Regions from separate parts of the Homo sapiens genome. Here region 1 is linked to region 2. The links are contacts of gene promoters, found by promoter capture Hi-C in blood cells and fetal thymus (Javierre and others, 2016). All regions are on one chromosome and are shown on one strand. Each heading gives the region's core, a stretch centred on a gene start or on the middle of the fragment in contact. The rest is flanking DNA. Distances are from core to core; before and after follow the strand shown. Region 1 overlaps AHR (aryl hydrocarbon receptor). Region 2 holds the start of TSPAN13 (tetraspanin 13).

Region 1 (4,911 bases), core at 1,860-4,359, 560 kb before region 2:
ACAGATTTTTAAATGTCTGTATTTGAAAATTTTCTAAAAAAGGAAAATTGCTGAAAGTTGGTGATTTTAATGTTAGCCCACGGTAGTCTCCCTAAAAAGAAAAAAAATGATGACTAATGACCTGTTCATGGCCAAATAAGCAAGGATTCTAGAACCATGCAAGACTAGGTAATGATCAAAGAGAAATCCATTAAATCAGTAAATTTAAAAGAGACAGGAAAGCAGCAAAATACATAATATATGATACAATGAGTTTAGATTGTTTGAATCTCAGATATTTGTCACTGTGTTCTTCAAAATAGTTGTCAAAGCAAACAAAAGCAGAGATAAAAGTATCCTATATAAAGTTCTATCATATTAATTTATTCATATAATCTAATAAATCTTATACTGTAAATTGGGATATCTGAGGAAAAGAGAGATTAAATTCCTGAACCAAAGAGGTCACAATATTAAATATGAGAGCCAGGATTTGTATATTCATTCAATAAGAATGCGCTACTATTCTTTGTATTTATTCATGTTTAAATCTGCAGGGGTTCCATAAATTAAAATTTTAAAAGAACCTAGGTTTATATAGTTTTAGCTATGAAAGTTATCATGAATATTGTAATTAGAGTTTCATGTTTTAAAATGTGAATTAGGAAAAAAGATAACAGTTAAATCACCATTTAAGATGGATAATGCCATGGGTAAATCAAATTCAACAAATACTTTATTTGGTGATTTCAAATGTGCTAAACTGTTATGCAAACAAACCTACTTTGGATAGTCCTAGAATTAAGAAATAACATTTGCTATGATACTATCATACTGAAACTTTGGTAAATTACTTGACACACAGAAATTTTAAAATTACAACAAAGCAGATGAAATTATAGAATTCTCATGAATGAAAAAGCAGACATACAAATCTATTAGATTTTATAAAACATCAACACTTAGAAGTGCATTACTTCATTTTTACTGCTTGTTCAAGCTTGTTCTTTGCATATACACATGTACGTATACTTGTTTTTCAAGAATAATGTTCTGATCTAGAGAGATACCAAAACAACTGAAATTCAGAGAAATGCACAAGCTGAAGATGAATAAACACAATAGCTCTCTTTGGAAAACCTAATGAACTGGGAATGAACTGTTAAAGCATCTGCAAAAGGAAGACCAAGAACAGAGCACTTGTAATTTTTAATTTAAAATAAAGTCAAGAAAGATCCATGATAAACAATGGGGTCAAATAAATGTTAGATCATCACATAATATAACTATTATCCTCTCTTCCCACAGCATTTTTAGGCTTAATGAATGAAAATATTTTAACATGTAAATAATTCTACATTTTATAAAATGGTGATTATTTTAAGCATGTATAATGATTCAAGACTTAGATTTTCCCTAACATTACCTTGTTTTAAAAATAACTAGAATACTACTATTCCCTATGACAGCTGCAAATGCAAGACTTTGAAATCAGAAACTCGGATCCCTAAGCTCCATTTTGTCAGGCTCATTAGGTGTTTGTATGTAAACAGAAAACAAAAGTAGTCATTCCCGAATTCTCAATTTTGGGGCAGCTGTATAAAAACAGAATAATTTGAACAAAATATTTACATAATAATGGGCATTTCAAAAAATAGTAAGGAAATCTCATTAAAAATTGTATTAAAGATATGCTGAAATTAGGAATGAAACATTACAATGCTGATTAGATTGATCAACAAGCCCAGTGTACACTGTTTAACAATTTTGAGAGACATGATATAGGAGGAAACAATCCTTTCTCTTCACATCAACCAGTTTCAAAGATTAGATTGTAACCACCCAAATCCTAGTCTCTATTAATAAACTATTATTGATTGTAACCATTGTTATTTAAATTTTTAAAATACCCTCCATCTCAGAGATAATATATTTAAATGTAATGCTTAAATCATGTCAAAGAAACTATTTTCGACTTTATAACTGAAAAATTGCTAAGCCTTGTTCAAGTATTTTAAAGTTATATTTCAATATGTTTTAATTAATTAGAAATGGATAAATATTAATGTAGTACTTAAAACTTTATAGTGTTGCTTTTCAGACAGCAGCAGCAGTATAGTCATGGTTCCAAACTTTAAGAAGATCCATCCAAGTTGGATTATTTAAACTTGCAATAAATAGATGTATTTTCTTGGAAAAATATCTATTGTTACAGTAAAACTTGAGTTTCCTTTCTAACAAGATTGTATGATTACTCGTTTATATTGTTCTTTCCGCAGGAATTTACACACCCCCTGTTTGCATCCTGTTATTCACTTTGAGCTTCCCTTCGCTTCGCTATACTGTTTCCCTAATAGTGGAAGAGTGGGTCCAACTGCACACAAAAATCCTAATCATTGTTAGCATGTTTCAAATCTCTTCGTTTGCATCTACCATTTTTTCAGTTCATAAGGGTCACCCTTATAATTTCATTCTCTGTGTGCTCTGAAATGTTGCATTGCCTTTCCAGACCACTGGTAGTCTGGAGGAAATTTGGGGATTAAAAAAAAAACCTTATTATTTTCATTTTCCATCTAACTGTATGTTTCTGTATCAAACAATCTAAGAAACTGCTTAGGCTGAATGTACACCACTATAACACAAGCAAAAATATTCATAGACTTCTTTAAATTTTGTATGTTTGCATTTGTCATTCTGAAGGCAAAGAAACAAAAATTAACTTGTTCAGGGCATAATCAAGGCTAGGCTAAATCACTGCCTCAGACTCCGTAACATGCTTGTTAAAATACTGATTCTTGGGTTTTACACAGAACTTCCTTGTTATCAGCAGGGGCATGCCTCCAAATTTGCATTTTAAAAAGCTTTCTAGGTAATTCTTATGCACAATGCAGTTTGAAAAGAATCTAACGTTAAAGATAATGATAATGTAGTTGATGAAGGAATCATGCAAATAGGTAATAAGATCCTACTGTCAAATACACTGAACCAGAATAAAAAACAGACAAACTCATTAATGAAGAGCTGAGAAAAAAGTTTTTAACAATTCCGTGATGAACCCTGTGTTAAACTATGACATGCTTTATAAGATAGACTGTGAGATCTCCTTTACTTGAAGCACTGAATAATAGGACACTTATCTAATCATGTATGTGTCTGTGTGTATACATACATGAACACACATACACACATAATGTAGACATTAAATATAGAAATATATCTGTTTATATATGTGTGTTTCACACACATTTATATGTATCTGTCTAGATACACACATATGTACTACTTCTAAACAGAGGAAAAACCTATACTTTTTTTTTCTTTTTAACATATATAATTTGATTCCCCATTACAAAGGAACAAGAAATGGAAAGGTAAAATGACTCAAGTCAATAAAGCTTTATCAGAGTCAGAGAATAATGCCTCCTTGGCTTCTAGACTCCAGAATCTCTAAGGGTGGCAACCACGTCTTACACATCACAGAATCTGCCACCACATGGTCAAGCACTAAGCACAGCATGTGAGTAAATGCTAGGGATCAGGACAGCATTCCGTGACGCTGGGAGGAGGCCTGAAGTTACAATCTACAGCAGTGGCTCCTAAACTTCAATATGCATCTAGCCCTATCACCAAAGGTCCCACCACCTTAGATTCCACAGGTCTAGGGTTGGACCCAATAATTTGCATTTCTAGCAAGTTCCCAGGTGATGCTGATGCTGCCTGTCTGGATACTACACTTTTAAGAACCACAGGTCTAGGAAAAAATCCTCAGTGCTTTCCTATGCGAAGGTTCCCAGAAAAAAGTAGGTATTATTTGGTCAGGAAAAACAATATAAGGAATCTAGAAACCTGAGTTCTAGTTCCAACTATGTCAGCTAAATGACTATAGCTAATACACACATACTTACAGACCATCACTGAATACTGCGTAACTCTTCTCCCAAGATGAAGGGTTTGGTATAGAGGCAACTGAAAATTCAAACACTTTTTATATAGGTCAGAGAAAATTTGTGTACTATGAAACTTTGAAATATATAATCTTTCCTGAAATCACTATCCTCAAATCTGTATATTGCCCAGACCACAACTGTTAAACTAAATAGCTTTTGTCCAAAAGAAAGACGGGAGAGCAAGCAAGCAAATCAATAAAAAGATGCTCAGACGAAACACATCAGATTATGTAAACATAAATCTAAAGGGAAATTAACTGTTGCAATATTCTAAACACAAATTACCAGTCAAATATCCATAAACGTGTTGTCTAGGCACTTCCTAGTGACCTAGACCAGCAGGATCAGCATCATCTCGGAGCTTGTTAGACATGCAAAATCTAGGGACACACCTAAAGCTACTGAACAAGAATCTGCATCTTAACAAGATCCCTATGTGATTTGTAAGCACATTAATGTATGAGAAGCATTGACTGACATAGCCCACTGAGATTTTATCATTAACTTGCTATGGTTAGTAAAATTATATGATATTTTAAAAAGACCATTTCCTTAAAAAATCTATTTCTGCCTTATAGACAGATAAAAGATAAATCAAAAATTAATTTTACATGAGAAAATACACTGAAACATCATTTGCAAACAAAAACTTCCATTGCAATTTAAAGGTAACAAATATCATCCAGCTGCCTAGCTCAAAACCCCAACCTTTACTGCTGAGAAAACTGAGATACGGGGATGCTACCTGGTTTGGTTAATGACAAACAGTTTTCAGTGACACAATAGAGAATGAAATCAAATTCTATTGACTCTTACAATCAAATGTTCTTTCTAGTGAAAAACATGTTTTAATTATATTTCTTGCAGTCGGTATACAATTAATGTAAAATATTAGAAATAGGCCAGGCGCAGTGGCTCATGCCTGTAATCCCAGCACTTTGGGAGGCTGAGACGGGCAGATCACCTGAGGTCAGGAGTTTGAGAG
Region 2 (4,570 bases), core at 648-3,147:
AAACAGATGACTAAATCATTGGCAGAAAAAAAACAGAACTCAGGTCACAAAATAAGGAATTTAAAGTTCCAAGCAGGCCACTCACACTGATTTAAAAAAAAAAAAAAAAACCCTAGAGAACTGGTCAGCATTTACTTAATAAACAGCCAGGGTGATAAGCATACCTCAGGGTGATACAGATGAATTTTGATCTGAAACTTGACATGTATCTCCAAGGAACTGTATCACCAGGTGTTCTAAAATTTTTTTCCCAAGTCTACTATTAATGACCATGTTGACCAGATTCTTACTAACTAGCCATAAAAGCGTACTCAATGCCTGTTTCTGTCTTGCCTTCAAAGCTTGCAGTCATGTTCACATACAAAGGAACAGTAAAGGTAAAATGACCCAACCTCCTTCTCCTGTTGGTGACCACAAGGCAGCCTCTCTATTCCAAGGAGGTAATCTAAGCTTGCACAGATGGCCTAGCTCTCTGCTAATGCAGGGGTGCTGGGTTTGTTTTCAGGGTGGGTGCTGCAAAGCGCCAGGTATATTTATAGAAGGGAGCAAGACTACTATGGAGGGATGATGACAGAAGAGGAAGTTTCTTCCGCCCGGTAGAGACAGCCTGTGGAAAGATCTGGATTCCACAGCCTAGGTTCCACTCCTGACTCGTCAACTACCAGCTATGTAAACTTACTAAAACCTTTTTGGTCTGTTACCTTATGTATAAAATGCAGATAATGCCCCATTCCCTCAGAAGGTTGTCAGAATGATGAACGAGCATTGTGTATGTAAAACCTGGGACGTGATAGGCATTCAATAAATGTCGATCTGTCCTGCCCATCCTCCTGTTCACCCAGAATTGCGCCTCAAAAAATCACAAAGAGAGCCTGCAGCGTTAAAACTAAGAGGCCCAAGCTGGTTGGCAGGGAAAGAAACGACTTGGGTGGGGGCTCGCTTATTTCCTGGAGGACTTGGTTTAAAATGGAGTTAGGATATTGATCATGGACAAGACACACAGAAAAAGCACCAAGTACTAGCAAAACTGACAACAACAAAAACAAAAAGACATCCCTTTACTGTGAGCACGAAACAAACTTCGGAAGCAGCGGACATCCTGTGAACCTACTCAGTGGCCTCAATTAAAATCCCGAGGGTACCAAGAGCTAACCCAGAGGCACACCAGCCATATGCCGCCTCGTCAGTTTCAGGCCACGCCATTCCGCAAAACTGTCCGCAAGCCCTGACGGCTCTCGCGCCTCCACGCCTGGCCCAGATGCGTCTGGATGTCAGGAGCGAGCGGCAGAAGGGTACGGGGTGGGAAAGCGGAGAGGTCCGGTTGAATGTTTGAAAAACAAGGCGGTGGGTGAGGGGGCGGGGTGGAGCAATGTGGCAGAGACGCGGCCAGCGAGCCTGAGAGACCGCGGCTTCACAATGAACGAAAGGAAGAGACTGCGACAAGCGCCGGCGCCCGGTCCCCGGCGGGGACGGATGGTGAGGCCGGGGGCGCGCAGACGTGGGAAGCCGGGAAGGGGGCGCGGGATGCAACGAGTGAGTCGCTGACCAGGCAGGGAAGCCAAAGAGCTCCCAAGCAGGTGCAAAGCCCCCAAGCGAGCAGGAACGGACTGGGGATACTCACGGTGTAAAGCAGGTTGAGGGCGCACAGGCAGTTCTTGGAACACGCGAAGCCCCCGCAAACCATCTTGGAACCTGTGGTTGCCGGCAGCTGCACGTAAATTCGACTCCGGCGGAGGTTCCCTGACAGCTGCTTTGTCCTTGCCTTTGGGGCCTGGCCCAGGCGGGGCAGCAACGCAGACGTGGGTGGGGGGCCGGGGCCTGGGGCTGCAGTGCGCGGCGCGCGCGCGGCGGCGGCTCGGACCCGCTTTGGAACCTGCGGCCGCCGCAGCTGAGCCGGAGCAGGAGCCCGAGCCCCGCCCAGCCCCTTCGTCTCGCCCCGCGCGCTGATTGGCCGCTGGCAGGGAACAAAGGTAGAAATATGCAAATAAATGCGCTCCGCCGACCGGGATCCGGGAGGGGCGGAGCGGTCCCGGGGCGAGGGGGAGAGGGCCAAGGCCGTGTGGGAGGGAGCCCCAGGCCAGAGCGGCGGCCTTGGTGTAGTTTCCCCAGGAGCAGGTGAGGAGGGAGGGCGGGGCTCGGAGGAGATCCACGCTGGCAAGGAGAAATATGACAGCACCTCTGGATTCTTGGCCCTGGCAGATGACGTGGCACCATTTTGAATGAGATTTCAAAACTAAGCACCTGGCCTTGTTTGAGGGAAGGAAGGCAGGAAGCAAGTAATGAATGAAAACATGTGAAAGATTTAAAAGAGAACGAAGTAGAGGCAAATGAAAGGGAGAAAATAAGTGAAACAATAAAAAATAAAATAAAATCCCTGCTTCTCTCAGAAAATAAGATATGTGCCCTATAATTGTGACCTGGACAGGTCAGACTTATCCTACAAAGATTTGCAAAATACTAATAAACTTTATGAATACATGCATGCAAAGGAAAATCAAGAGCGGGAGAAGGTGGGGATGGTTAATAGGTCCAAAAAAATAGAAAGAATGAATAAGACCTACTATTTGATAGCACAATAAAGTGACAATCGTTAATAAGAACTTAATTGTGTATTTTAAAATAACTTAAAGAATGTAATTGGATTGTTTGTAACTCAAAGGATAAATGTTTCAGAGGATGGATACCCTATTCTCCGTGATGTGCTTATTTCACATTGCATGCCTGTATCAAAACATCTCATGTACCCCGTAAATATATACATCTGCTACGTGTCAACAAAAGTTTTTTAAAAAATTTTAAAAAGAAAATCAAGAGAGATTATTTTTGTGTTCTGGTCGTGAATTTCAATAAACTTATTTTTTCACAAAAATAACTGAAAATCTTCAAATAACTCAGACTTCACCTCAATTAATTCATTATCAGTTTACTGCTTCTCTACTATAGAAATGCATCTTGTATCCTTAATTCCTCACCTATAAATTGAGATTTTAGAAGTATGTCAAGCACTTTTTGCATAGTGGCTGGCACAGGGGAAGGCCTCAATAAATGTCAGCTAGTATTCATAGATCTGACATTTTGTAAAGGCCTACTGTGTTCCAGGCACTAAGCGAAGGCAATAAAGGTTTATTTACTTCATAGTAGTTTCTACCAAAGAAAAAGGTTTTATAAAGAGATTTGCAAGTTTACAATACTATATCTAACCTAAAGGTTCATACGGAGTAAATTATGTAATTGCAAATGCTAAATTGTATTAAATTAAATTAAACATTGCAGCTGATTAAAATAATTCGTCTTCTTAGAATTCTCTGCTCCCTCTTCCAGCCTCTCCTTCCCTCCCCTGACCCCACCATACCAACAAGACCTCATTAATTTGTTAGGCTTTCTATTCCACATTAACCTTTTATATACAGCTAGAAATATTTCAAAAACTAACCTGGAAAATGATCCTCAAACACAAACAATGCTTTGATGATGCTCAACTTTCCTTTTTAATAGCCAGAGGTTTACAAAAGATGAGGCATTGGCAGGGAAATCTATTCATTCTCTTCCCATTCCTGGGTGTCACCAACATTAGTACCACTTCAACTATCACTCAACCAACTATTGCAACTCTCTCTTTGGCTTCTGCATAATATCTTCACTATCTCCCTATAGGCTGAATCACTTTGTTTTCCCAGAGAAGTACCACCTATCAGTCAGGGTCCCAGCAAAAAGGAGATGACTCGTTCAAATAGCATAACTGAGAAGAATTTCAAAAAGGGACTATTTTCAAAAGTGTGGACAAAGTTAAAGGAAACCGGCTGGGTGCGGTGGCTCACACCTGTAATCCCAGCACTTTGGGAGGCCGAGGGTAGTGGATCACCTGAGGTCAGGAGTTTGAGACCAGACTGACCAACATGGTGAAACCCCGTCTCTACTAAAACTACAAAAATTAGCCAGGCGTGGTAGCGGGCACCTGTAATCCCAGCTACTTGGGAGGCTGAGGCAGGAGAATCACTTGAACCCAGGAGGTGGAGGTTGCAGTGAGCCAAGATCGCGCCACTGCTCTCCAGCCTGGGTGACAGAGTGAAATTCTGTCTCAAAAAGAAAAGGAAACCAACAAAGCATGATGAGGCAGCTCAGAGATAGTAAGAGCAGGAAGTTCTAATTACCCCTAAGACTAAGGGGGTGATTTAAGGGAACAGTTACAGAAGCCAGGCAAGAGCTATAGTTGTAGGAGAGTTGTCTGATAGGAGATACGGCTTTTGATAGAGGAAACAAAACAATGTCTGAAAATAGGAAAACAAATGGACATGTTGCAATTTCTCCTGATTTGGATATAGAAATTTTCAAAAGACCATTTGTTCCCACCCTAATAAGAACAAGCAGTCTGGACAACATAGTGAGACCCCATCTCTACTAAAAATTGAAAATATTAGCTGGGTGTGGTGGTGCATACCTGTAATCCCAGCTATCCCAGCTACTCAGGAGCCTGAGGGGGAAGGATTGCTGGAGCCCAGGAGATCAAGGCTGCAGTCAGCTATGATGGCGCCACAGCACTCCAGCCTGGGTGCAGACCAAGACCCTGTCT

What was found. Contacts are between HindIII fragments. The CHiCAGO score rates a contact against its expected background, and 5 or more counts as called.
Region 1: a fragment that was not itself captured here is called in contact with the fragment with the promoter of TSPAN13 in region 2 in 1 of 17 cell types (naive B cells); the score reaches 5.5 in naive B cells.

The regions. Positions count from the first base shown.
Region 1 is chr7:17,310,751-17,315,661 of GRCh38, reverse strand. The region is part of intron 2 of AHR (aryl hydrocarbon receptor); the gene reads right to left. Among named protein-coding and RNA genes, the nearest start is that of AHR, 15 kb to the right of the region's middle. The HindIII fragment of the contact is 534 bases long and covers 2,843-3,376 here.
Region 2 is chr7:16,751,082-16,755,651 of GRCh38, reverse strand. TSPAN13 (tetraspanin 13) reads right to left here and starts at 1,897. Exons shown (of 6, transcript NM_014399.4): 1 at 1,622-1,897. The coding sequence starts at 1,684. The HindIII fragment of the contact is 13,671 bases long and covers 453-4,570 here.